4 separate regions of the Homo sapiens genome follow, and all the other regions are linked to region 1. Evidence: promoter capture Hi-C in 16 types of primary human blood cells and fetal thymus (Javierre and others, 2016). All regions are on one chromosome and are shown on one strand. Each heading gives the region's core, a stretch centred on a gene start or on the middle of the fragment in contact. The rest is flanking DNA. Distances are from core to core; before and after follow the strand shown.

Region 1 (3,169 bases), core at 427-2,926:
TGGTGAAAAATATTTTCTTAAACTAGTTTCACATCTAATTCCACATTATTCTCACAATTTCTGTAATGTTTTTCTTCTAAATTTACCGGGAAAGCCAATATTCTTCAAAGAAACATCTTTAAAAAGAAACATCTTTAAAAAGTATATACTTTTCATTTTATATCCCATCTTAGATATAGTTTGCCATCTCTCATATCTGTGGCCAAATGTCATTTGAATCGGACTAAGTAATTGCAAAAAGTAAAATAATGACTTATTTTCTTAATTCATTAAAAATAAGTACATTTTTAATTCTCTAATTTAAAGTAAATATTTTAATAGAAGATTTAAAAGGAGCCACTGACCAGCCTGGGTGCTTACTACAAAAGAGTTGAAAGTAATTCACACAGTGTATCAACAGTAGCTGTCTCCCACACACACAGGCACACTCACTCTCTCCCCCATCTGAACTTTTCCTCCCTAAAACATGAGGTGGGAGAAGGGGAATGACCATGACACAGGCCTCACTACCCCCACCCCACGAGTAGACACACATCTCCCTCCTCATCCTGCTGAAAAGAAATGTGGAGGCTGTGGACCAAGAGACCCGATGCTTCTCAGTGTCACTTCCCCTGCATGTGGGATAAACAAACAAACCGGCACCATGAGAGTAACCATCAGAGTGATTTTGCTAACCTTTGACTAATGTCTTGGTTAAGTTTTGAGCTGAGTCAAAGCTCTAAGAAACAGGTAAATCCCTGTGTCCCCCCACCCAACCCCTTAAACACTCCAACGGGAAGTTTATCCCTGAGCTGAACGCTGGCCCCCGTCGCCTCCTCCCAGCCTATCCATGCCTCCTTCCTGCCTGAAGCCCCTACTCCAAAGGTAATTGTCTGGACACAGTCAAGGAGCACCGTGGGCGACACTCCCCACCTCCCAATCTCTCCTAAGGAAGCCCCCGCCGGCCCAGTTGGCCCACCTCCCTCGCCGCCCCAGTCGCGCCGCACCACTCCGGCAACTTTTGCACCCAGCCCGACCCGCCACCCGCGGCCCCCGCTGCCCCCTAGCCCTCCGCGCCCTCAGCCTCCGACCGCGGCCCCCTCCTGCCCACGCCTCCGGGCCACCCGCCATGGTCCTCGCCCACCCCTCCCCCGACACCCGCGCCTGCGGCGCCGCCCCCGCCGCACCCCACCCCACCCGCCCGGGACCCCAGCCCCACCCGGGAGGGAGGGCGCCGCGGCCGCGCCGAGGCAGCCGCCGGGCCGGGGCTGGCAGCGGAGCACCTACGCGCAGGGGGCTTTACCTCAAAGGCGCGGCCGCGAGCAGAGGGGTCGGTCCCGGGCGCGGGCGGCGCCCCCAGTCCGTCAGCGCCGGCGGGGGCAGCGGCGGCGGCACATCACACCCGCCGGCGGCCGGAGGAGGAAAGCGAGCCACGCAGGGAGCGAGCGAGCGAGCGAGCGAGGTAGGGGGGAAGGAGCGAGAGAGAGAGGTAACGCAGCGCTGCTCGGATTCGGTCCCTGCACTGCCGCTGGTGCCTCCTACCGCCGCCGCTGGCCGGAGAGTCGCCGCCCGAGCCTCTGCTGTCGCCACCGATGCAGCCCGGAATGAATGCACAGCAGCGCCTCGCTTATCCGGAGGTCAAACATCCTTCTGCCTCGGGCATCCGGATCGACGCCGGACCCGGAAGTGAACACATGGAAAAAAAATTAAAAAGGAAAGCGTCTGTTTAGCGGCGGCGGCCCCCAAGCTGCCCGCATCAGCGAAAACAGCCGAGTAGAGCCGAAGATTGCACCAACCTTCTTGGATTGGTCGGATCGCCGACCGGAAAGGAGACGGCGCGGTCATTGGCTGGCAAGGTGTATAAAGCCTAAGCCGCGCCCTATCCCCGTCTTTCTAGAGCCGTGCGTGAGGGAAAGTGGGGAGAGGCTGTGGATACGAGTGTTTCTCTGGATGAAGCAGTGGGCGGAGAAGCATAGCAAAGTCTACGCAGAGAACTGGAAGAGAACACCACCATGCTTTAGGAGAGCTACTAAGAACTGAGTGAGCAAAGAGCCTTAAGGGTACCATTGTGCCAAGTCAGGGTGCTGAGGCTTTCCCTGTTGTGCTCAGCCCGCCAGGTTCCAAAAAAATCTTAGGGCCCGGCCTAGGAGTATGACATCACTGGGTTGACATTTTTCCCCGCTTGTTTGTAACCCCAGTGCCATATCAGGGCTCCAACTGCTTAGAAATGTGAATTATGGCTCACATTTGCGTCTCATTTGCTGTTTGTAAGCTGAGGTAATCCTCTGAACTATATAGTGTGGCATTACCTGTTTTTCAAATTCACCTCCCAAAGTTCTGAGAAGCCAAACATCACCCAAGTTATCAAGTTGCAGCGCACAAACTGAAATCGGTGTTTCTGACTCACACTTAAGTCCACTCTGCCTACATAGAAAGACTGCATTCCTTTCATTTTCCCTCTTGCAGTTGCTTCCCTGGGATGGAGATAAGTCATTTTGGTAGACTTCTATGGAAATTGATCCACCATGAAGGCATGGAAACTATAATTTTTTAAAATTGTGATTCTTATGTCTCAAGTCCTTTCAAAAGTTAGGCATTAAGGTGTGCAGGAAGAAGAATCAGCCTGGTGCCATGTTTTTTAAATGTTCATTTTATCAAACCCGTTTATATTCTTAATATACTTACTGTATCAAGAAACTTGAGTCTTGTGTATCTCTATCTCTCCTGTCTACCTCTCAAAACGAAAAGACTAATGAAACAAATGCACTCCTTCATTTTCCTCCCTGCTTTGCTAGATTAACGGTATAGCTAATGTGTTACCTTTGGAAGGGTAGTTAGTATAGAAATCTGTTTTTGATTTTGGTTTGTAATACAACAGTGCCTTTTTTTTAAACCTCTCTTCTCACTTCTTCCCCAAACTGGAAGTTAAGAAGTGACTAGCATCACCAGCCTTAGAAGGGTAGTGATAAGAGCTTTGCTCCATGCTTACCACACCATCATTCTGTAGGAGACTCAAAAGCAGCTAAGATGTATGCATGCTCAGAATTGTGAATGACTTGCCTAGGGCAGATGACATATCCCAGAATTTCTGATCTCTCCCAGGACCCACTAATAGACAAGAAACAAAGTTAACAACATCTCACTCAATAGAAGAGAAGTGTCTGCAACACAGGAAACTCTAAATATTGTC
Region 2 (3,169 bases), core at 450-2,949, 120 kb after region 1:
AAAGTAATGGACAGGAGGTGAGAAGAAGCATTAGGAAATTTTAGTAGAACTAAATTTTAGAGATGATTCTGCTAAACCCAAGATATTTAGAAAACTGAAGACTATATAAAATGGTGACATGCAGGGAAAAGCAGTTTGAGTTTTATTCTGTATCTAACATATCAGTCCTTACCAAAAGTATTGATTTATTAGTTTCTAATGGAGGACATTTACATCATAAAAATACTTTTTTTTCCAGCCCATAAAAATATTACACCTTATAATAACTTTGGGACTAAGTTACAGGTCTCTCTTAACTCTTTCACTGATGATATTAGAGCTAAATATATTTTACAGCATGATTGCTTATTTATTATTCATTCAAATACTAAGTTTGCTAAGGCTTCAATATAGTAAGGGAAAACAAGTTATATAACATTTATCTGGAAGAGTCTTTTTTTTTGTACTTGTCAAAAGGTGATAATATTGAATTTTTAATTAGCTATCAGTGATTAACAGTATACTCCACTCCAGAGATATTCTTTTACTTACTGTTAAGCACTCTTTTTAATATGAGGTCTGAAAAGCAAGAAAAGAGAAATATTCAAGATATCTTATGGGTGAAAAAAACAAAACTATTTGAGGTTTTTAAATTCCAAATCAGGATTGATCCACTGACTTATTTTTTGAAACTGTGTTTAAATTAATGGTAAAATGGAAAAAGAAAAATGTTGAGGTATTTCTTTGTTTTTTTTGTTTAAATTCATGCATTAATTTTGTTATAGTAAAATATTAAAGTAGCTCACCAAAGAGACAGAAAAAGAAGCAATAACATATGATTATGTAATACCGAAAGAAGAAATGAAAAAGGTAATAGCTATTATTGAGTTTTTAGTAAACTTTGTGTTTTATCACCAGTTTTAACAGTTATGTGTGAGAATTCATTACTTCGTCACTTGAGGTCAATGAGGTATAACCTGCATAATATTTTCTTTCCATGCATCATTTTACAACTTCTTATTAAGTTTATGATATTTAGGAGAAAGGAGAAAGTATAAAGCCCTATTTTGATTTTTCCCTTTCATATTAGATTCACCTCTGCTGTGGAGACCAGTCACTTGGAAGTACAGAAATACCTTTAACTGGATTACTTAAAAAGGGCAGTACAGAAATCAACCAGCACCCAGTCACAGTCGAAGGTGCTTTTACCCTTGACCCTCCAAACAGAGCCAAACAGAAGCTTGCACCTATTCCTGTGGAGCTAGCCCCAACTGTGGGAGTGTCTGTGGCTCTGCAGAGAGAAGGCATAGACTCCCAGGCAAGTAGTGGCCCTCCTTCATTCCCCTGGCTTCACTAGTCCCATGCATGATTACTTACAAAAGTTGAATTTCAGAAGAGTTACCTTCATAAGGATATATTTATTAATCTTAATTAGTGACCTTTGTTATATGATACCTCCTTTCTGAAAAGTGCTGTGACTTCTGTTATGGTTTATAAGTGATTCTACCCAGAGCCCTCTTAGCCTTTGAGACAGTCTTTTTGTGTAGTGGAAACCCACTTATGGTCTCCCCCACCCCCAACTCCAGAAAAGGAACTCCAGTGAAAGAGAACATTTTTAGACCTAGTTTCTGGGAATCTGCATTACTGATATCTTTTTGGTTAATGCAACCTGAGCCAAAATAAAATCCTTGGTTCCTTAGTGCTTTGTAGTCCTCATACTCTCTTTAGTCAGTTTTCATGACACAGATGATCATTTATTTGGCCGTGTATTTTTTTTATTGTATCTATTCCCAGAAATCAACTTTATCTTGTTCTTTCAAAAAGCTGATCTTTATGCAGGTTGTGAATTAAAGATAGAAGAACCGAAATGAGTGTTTAAAAGATACATATACATATATTTTTAGTGGGGAGTGGAATAAAGGAGAGAAGGAAAGTCATACTAGACATGTGTTTTTTCTCTTTAGGAGTATAGTTCTCCATTGTACTGCCTTGGTAGGAATAACCATTCCCGGGGACACCTATGCCTGACTTCTTTTCTCAAATATCCCTTCTTACCCATTAGGATGCATTTTGGTATTCAGCTCTGGATATCATATTTCCTCTGTTCATCTTCCTTTTTCTGGTCCTAGATGCTATAAGGAAATTTGCAAATTACGAAGAAAAATAGACTAGGAATATCCAAACTGGGAAAGGAAGCTTATATTTTTAAAAAACAATGCCAAGTTTTTTGCTTAATTATGAAGGAAAGTTCTTTGCAAATTATACTTTATTTAAAAATTGTTTTTAGTCTTTAATTGAATTAAAGACCCAGAATGAACATGAGCCAGAGCATTCAAAGAAGAAAGTTTTAACCCCCATAAAGGAGAAGACACTTACTGGGCCAAAATCACCAACAGTGTCCCCTGTTCCATCTCACAACCAGTCACCTCCAACAAAAGATGATGCAACAGAAAGTGAAGTGGAAAGTTTACAGTATGATAAGGACACCAAACCAAATCCAAAAGGTAAGGTTTTTTGTTGTTTGTTTATAGATCTTTGAGGTATTGCATTTTGCAGCCATCTAAAAAATGACTATGAGAACTTTCATGAGTTATAAGTAAAAATTGTGGGTTTGTTAAGAACCAATAAGGCTGGGCACGGTGGCTCACGCCTGTAATCCCAGCACTTTGGAAGACCGAGGCAGGTGGATCACCTGAGGTTGGGCATTCGAGACCAGCCTGACCAAGGTAGAGAAATCCCGTCTCTACTAAAAATACAAAATTAGCCAGGCGTGGTGGTGCATGCCTGTAATCCCAGCTACTCGGGAGGCTGAGGCAGGAGAATTGCTTGAACCCAGGAGGTGGAGGTTGTGGTGAGCCAAGATCGCGCCATTGCACTCCAGCCTGGGCAACAAGAGCGGAACTCCGTCTCAAAACAAAAAACAAAACAGTAATGTGTGGAAATATAAAAAATTTCAATGCAAAGTCATTGCAATCTATCTAACTTCAAAATATAATTCTCTAAATTAACAGAATTTTTTATTTTACTTGTACACTGGAAATATCCTATTCAATAGACATTAAATAATATAGTTTTTGCAAGTAGATTTTTTAAATGATTAGATTCTTAAATATCTTGAAGTTTGGAGAAAACAGTTGTTAACTGCCTCTTATAGTAAACTCATAATAACCATTTTTGATCCTGAAGTTAA
Region 3 (3,169 bases), core at 475-2,974, 100 kb before region 1:
AAATTCAAAAGGTTTTTCACTAAGAGTAATTAAGAATTTCATTCTATGCATTCTCACCCTTTCTCCCTGATATTTATATGTGACTGTTGAAGCCATTAGGAAGGCAATAATGATCCTAACATTGGGGAGTTTATTCTCACCAATAATCAGTTTAGACTCCAAAAATAAAAAGACACTCCAATATACACTAGTCAACATTTTCCATCATATTAAAAAAGTGAAAGACAGAAAATACATTATATAGAATACCAAGACTGGCAATTTTGAATTCTTTAAGGGTTAAAGAAGGTCAAGCTTATTGAAAGTTTAGTTAAGGTAAAAACTATGCTTAATATTTAAAGTAGCACAATTGAGGTGATTCCATTTTACAAGTCAAAACTGTATATGCAAAAAAATATAATACTGACTTTTATTTCTAGGTGAAAAAAAATCTTGGCTGGGCACAGTGGCTCATGCCTGTAATCCCAGCACTTTGAGAGGCCGAGGCAGGAGGATTGCTTGAGCTCAGGAGTTTAAGAATTCAAGACCAGCCTGGACAATACAGCAAGACCCCATCTCTAAATATCTCTCTCTCTCTAACTACATATACACATACACAAATATCTCTAAATATATATATACACACATACATATATAAATGTACACACATATATTATATTATACATACATACGCACACACACACACACACACACATGCACTGGACATGGTGGCACCCGCCTGTTACCCCATCTCCTTGAGAGGCTGAGGCAGGAGGAATGTTTGATCTATGATTGTGCCACTGAACCCCAGTCTGTGTGACAGGGCAAGACCCTGTCTCTAAAAGAGGAGATGAACACATCAAGGCTGCTGTGGGAAAATGCTGTGGTCTGGTATGAACTGAAAAAATCACTGATCTGCTCCCACCAAAAAAAAAAAAGAAAAAAATTAAATACACATCTATCTTAAATGCCTCACAATCCTTCAAATAAAGGCATGAAGGTATGGCATTTTCCCCTTCCAGACATAAAAGAGTCTATTAAAATATACAACATGACAGACACTACATATAGTTAGGCACCTTTTCTTTTAACCTTTAAACAGTCAACCCCTTCCTAAGGTTGAATTTACTTTTGGCGCAGGCAAGCATGGTTGAGTATCCCTGGTTTCCACTGAAGTCCTCTGTGGGTATGTGGGCATGTTTATAAATCATATTTTGTAATAAAAGCAAAGTATATTTATATACATGGTGATTTCATCATCGAGAGCTGCCAATTCAGACTGTGTATAATATGCCCTTATAAAGATGTTTCTATAATTCTTACTAATCTATATTCATAGAAGAATAGTTTTGGCCAGGAGGGGTGGCTCATGCGTGTAATCCCAGCACTTTGGGAGGCCAAGGTGGGCAGATCACAAGGTCAGGAGTTCAAGACCAGCCTGACCAACATGGTAAAACCCTGTCTCTACTAAAAATACAAAAATTAGCCAGGCGTGGTGACAGGCACCTGTAATCCCAGCTACTCAGGAGGCTGAGGCAGGAGAATCACTTGAACCCAGGAGGCGGAGGTTGCAGTGAGCCAAGGTCGCGCCATTGCACTCCAGCCTGGGCGACAGAGTGAGACTCTGTTCCAAAAAAAAAAAAAAAATAGCTTCAAGTGTCCCACCCGGCAAAAGATTACAGAATATAAAATAACTACTAGGTATGTTTTATATACTTCTGTGAAATAAATGTAAACAGAAATCTACACTGTCCAGTTAAATTACATAATCTCTCTACCCACATTATCTTTAGTCAAAAATAATTTTAAATTATTTATTGTGATTTCTGCCATAATTATGAAACTACTATGAGGGTACTGCAAACCAAATTACACAACTGCATTTTTTTAAGTAAACCAAACAGTAAACACCGACTAGACCGTGGAATGTAAATAATTTAAAATTGTGGACCAGCTGATAAAGATTCAACTAGAAATATATGTAATGATGAATGTTTATCAACTTTACTCTCATGGAGGTGACTAGCAGAAAGAACTGAAATGGATTACCCAGTCAAGAGCCTAGAGAAGAGCTGCCACAGTACAACAAGACTACACATGTAAGAGATTTGATCTGGATTTAAAAAAATAAGTCAAATTTATTTTTAACTGTCAGCTACCTAATATTTCTCAAATCTCAATTACTTTCTAAAAGATAAAATCCTTTACTCCAAATGAACCTTTAAATTTAAGACTTAGAAAAGAGCAGAAAAATATCCAAATAGCAGAAAGCAAGACATAAAAATAGGTATTTAGAAGTGACAGACCAAATACTTAGAATATTAAATTTAAGAATATGGCCATATTTCAATGGAAATTTATTGTTTGATATAAAATTCCTTTAATAATGTTCACTATTCTTAAACACTATCCTTTCAAATTCCAAAGTAGATTCTTTCAAAATTTTCTAAAGTTGTATTAGCCCTTTGAAATGGGCAATTTAATGTAATACACATTTTGATGAACAAGACAAAGTCCCAAATTTTCTACACTTGTATCAGCAATTTACTTTGCTTAGTTTGTATTTCCAGTACTGAGAGTTCTGAGAGTTGAGTTCTGAGAGTTGAGTTCTTTACACTTAAGTAATCTTTCCTTCAACAGTGTTTTACTGAACTACGCCAAGCATTTATTTGAGACTAAATAAGATTTTCAAATAAATTCTAATGGCCCTTAAATTCAAACACAATCTAAAAAGGACATCTATTTTAAATAATTCCCACTAAATAAAGAACGTCCTTATAAAGATTTGCAAAAGTAAAGCTGGCATGCTATTAAAGTTACTACCACCAGAGGACAGCATTGCCTTATGTGATACAAATGCATCCAAATAGACAAGAGAGAGGTTCTCAAAATACGATATACTTACAGAAGTTAGGAAGTAAATTGATGTTTTAACCTTATGGCTTATTTCTTAAGATAAAAGTAATTACCGAAACAGCTAATTTATAGTCTTAGAGATTAAGAAATCAGGTCTCATCTCAATTGCTTCCTCTTCCCCAGCACTTAATCTGAAACAGTGCTGCTCCCATGTAGCCACTTGAGCACACTATTGTTTTATTTTTCTGTAATAACTTACTCCTACTTTGAAATTATTTTATTTATTTATTATCTGCCTTTGCACTAGAATTTAAGCTTCATAAAGGACTGCTCA
Region 4 (3,169 bases), core at 181-2,680, 81 kb before region 1:
TTGGCAAATATGCATGGCAATAACAAACATCATAATCTACCAGTAAAATTAAGAGAAGTTTCTTAATAGGGGACAACTTCTGTTTCAGGAAAATGTGGACAACACTAATAAAAAGTAGGGAGAAGAATATACTATTTAAACTTTATTACATGTTTGGTTCTGAATTAGCTGCTTTATATATTACCATATTTTGAGGTAGATATTATCATCCACTTTTACTGATGAAGACAGTGAGACATTAACCACTTCCCCACAGTTACAGACCTACCAAGGAGTACAACAGGAATTCCAACTCAGAGCATAATGCTCTTCCAATAATACTACCTAGCTCCTTACGAAAATTAAATATATTCTAAAGCCTTCAGTACTCTTTTCTTTCTTTTTCAAACAAAGTCATGAAAATCTTGCCACAAAGTGCCAAGCATATTGGAGTATGGGGAGCCTCAAGCATATTGTTGGCCAGAACAACCTTAAGGGGAGAGATGTAAAATTCAAGTAGACACATGAATACATGTTCTGGCACTAAGCTTCCTAAATTGTACAATGCAAAATTACATACTCTGTGGCATAAAGTATGTCATCAAAACTATGACAGTTCTATAATGTCTTTTCGTTAAACCCTCCAAATCCATAACCAGAATTAAGCAGATTTGTAGCTTAAGTTGAAATCAAATCAGATGAAGTCAAGTCTAGACAAGATCAAAGAATAAAAATGATGCTAAAATTGAGACAAACATCTAGGGCAATGCGCAATATTTTGGGGTCATGGAACTCTCTAAGAATATAGTAAGAGCTACACGCCCTCTCCTGAAAATAAACAATTACATGTACCCAACAATTTCAGGATCCCCTCAACTTAACTCATTTATCTAGGGGCATTACAAAGGTTTAAGTCACGTGACATAATCTATCTTCCTCTGGGATTGTGAACTGTGGGTTTCTTGTAGAACTTAAGCTGCTTAGTGGTCTAGAGATATTTAAGAAGTTTTTTTTAAATATACAACTTTTCTATCATGATGAAAGTGTGTATATTCACATCCCAAATTCAATATATAAGCCTATCCTAAAGAATTGCCTAAATATTATATATATGTGTGTGTGTGTGTGTGTGTGTGTGTATATATACACACACACCCACCCTACATTTAGTGCAAGGACTGGACAAATGAAACATGGTTCCTACCCTCAGTGAGCTTATACTCTAGTTAGCAAGACATGTCTGAAAGATGTAGAAAACTAAAAGTCTAAAACATTAGATTTATAATTTAATTCAACAATAGAGGAATTTCACTTATTATAATACCTAACAGCTCAAGTGGAGAATTTCAAAGAATACCGTATTAATCTTCTTCCAAGTACATTCAAGGAATTAACTCTGGTTTATAAAACACAAACTAAGTCTCAACTTCTGAGCCATTTCTTTCTTTATACAGAATCTTTTCACAGCACTCCAGCTATCAACTAATTTTAATTTATATATGAAGTAATTTATGTATGAGATGCTTTATAGTACCAATTTTTCTAAGTCAAAAATTTAATATTAATCTTTTAAAACTGGCCATGCTATATATATATATATAGCATAATATTGTTAAACACTCCCTAAAATGTAGCATTTTATTTTGCTATGATTTTTAACAAGTGGTGTTCTTTCTTTTGATTGTCATCCTGTTTTAATCTTTAATCTTCACTTAAACTTTGATGGGATAAACAATATAAAAGTCAAAAAGGACGGCATACTATCCTTCTCCAAAATGGATTGTAAGAGAAAATTTCTAGACACTCCTTAACTCAGTGTGATAGTGAAATTTTTAAGTCAAAGATGTCTTCGATAAAACTTTTTTACCAAAAAAAAGAGAAAGAGAGAGAGAAAAATTAAAACATTGCCCAAAAATTTCAACAGCTTTCTATTCCTTTACCTGGCCAGGAAACATGAACTCGCTACTTGATCAACTTCTATGCCTTATCTCAGACTGACTCTCTACTCCCTCTCTAATCCATCTCTACCTACCTCCTGCTCCAAACAAATTTGAACCGCTTGCTATTCCTCAAATTCTCTATTTTTAAACTTCTGCTTCATATTTTATATTATTCACTCTCCCCAAAATGCCCTTATCTTCATTTCCCTTTAAAAACTCCATTCATTCTTTAGGTTCATGTCAAAAGCTACCTTTTCCATAAAATCTTCATAGAGCCCCACATATGATCTCCATGCTACTTTATTAGTGTTTCATGTAATATAGCTTATTCTCTTTTTAAATATAGCTATTTCTGTATTTATTGTAATAATAATAACAGTAACAGCAGACACAAGAGTTTTGATTCAAAGCTTACTGTATGCTCTAAATTAACATGCATTATTTCCATTTTATAGATGAGGAAACTGAGGCTTTGACAGATTAACTTATTTGCCCAGGGTCAAGCCATATCCATGTATGCCTGATTCTAAAGAATTGAGTGAACTCTTAGCTACAACACTGCTTTTAGACACTGGTGACAAAATCATTCTTAAAGGTTATACAGTCTTCTTTACTTCTGAATTTCTATAATGTGTAGAACAGTAGCTTTACAATAGCAGAAATTCAATAAATAATTTATTGAACTAAACTACAGTTAGAAAGTCCAAGTGTTATTACAATTCATTCTAATAGGGTATCCAAATACTTCCATTCTAACAGAATATCACATATTCCTAAAAGTTTACACTAATTTGTACCATTAATTAAGGATTTATGATTAAACATTTTAATGCTATTATTAAACTAATAAACAGTGAAATTAAGAGAAAATAGATTATCTATTAAAAATATGTATTTTCAATCCTTCAGTCTGTTTTATCTATTGAAGAAAAAAGTGTATGTTTCAATCATGAAAGGAAGGTATTTCATATCTAAAGGGCAGCAAACCTGGTTTTTGGATTGTTGCATCTTATCTCTGTGTTGATGTGCTTCTCTGTTTGATGACAGAGCAGGATCTTGCTGAACTGCACCCACTGGAGTAGGCTACAATACAATAACAATTGGTATCAATACATTCCATTTTAAAATTCTTATTTAAAATCATTTAGCTGCTTAAAAGAATTAAGGAAAAAAACAAAAGACTGTTAAATAAACTAAGGCTTTAAGTAAAGGCATCATTATCAAAATATGTTGTTAAAGCTAAGAAGGTA

The links. The method cuts DNA at HindIII sites, captures the fragments that hold promoters and counts their contacts. A CHiCAGO score of 5 or more calls a contact.
Region 2: a contact is called between a fragment that was not itself captured here and the fragment with the promoter of CSNK1G3 in region 1, in 3 of 17 cell types (activated CD4 T cells, naive CD8 T cells and non-activated CD4 T cells). The highest score is 7.7, in activated CD4 T cells.
Region 3: a contact is called between a fragment that was not itself captured here and the fragment with the promoter of CSNK1G3 in region 1, in 1 of 17 cell types (activated CD4 T cells). The highest score is 6.1, in activated CD4 T cells.
Region 4: a fragment that was not itself captured here is called in contact with the fragment with the promoter of CSNK1G3 in region 1 in 1 of 17 cell types (total CD8 T cells); the score reaches 6.0 in total CD8 T cells.

Annotation. Positions count from the first base shown.
Region 1 is chr5:123,510,684-123,513,852 of GRCh38, reverse strand. CSNK1G3 (casein kinase 1 gamma 3) reads right to left here and starts at 1,676. Exons shown (of 14, transcript NM_001364140.2): 1 at 1,283-1,676. RefSeq lists enhancers at 355-504, 1,535-1,744, 1,905-1,964 and silencers at 1,025-1,094, 1,265-1,354. The HindIII fragment of the contact is 13,359 bases long and covers 1-3,169 here.
Region 2 is chr5:123,389,238-123,392,406 of GRCh38, reverse strand. CEP120 (centrosomal protein 120) reads left to right here. Exons shown (of 20, transcript NM_001375405.1): 7 at 1,070-1,297; 8 at 2,267-2,483. Among named protein-coding and RNA genes, the nearest start is that of CEP120, 33 kb to the left of the region's middle. The HindIII fragment of the contact is 956 bases long and covers 1,222-2,177 here.
Region 3 is chr5:123,610,937-123,614,105 of GRCh38, reverse strand. The region is part of intron 13 of CSNK1G3 (casein kinase 1 gamma 3); the gene reads right to left. Among named protein-coding and RNA genes, the nearest start is that of CSNK1G3, 100 kb to the right of the region's middle. The HindIII fragment of the contact is 2,856 bases long and covers 297-3,152 here.
Region 4 is chr5:123,591,152-123,594,320 of GRCh38, reverse strand. It overlaps CSNK1G3 (casein kinase 1 gamma 3), which reads right to left. Exons shown (of 14, transcript NM_001364140.2): 10 at 2,907-3,002. Among named protein-coding and RNA genes, the nearest start is that of CSNK1G3, 81 kb to the right of the region's middle. The HindIII fragment of the contact is 1,802 bases long and covers 530-2,331 here.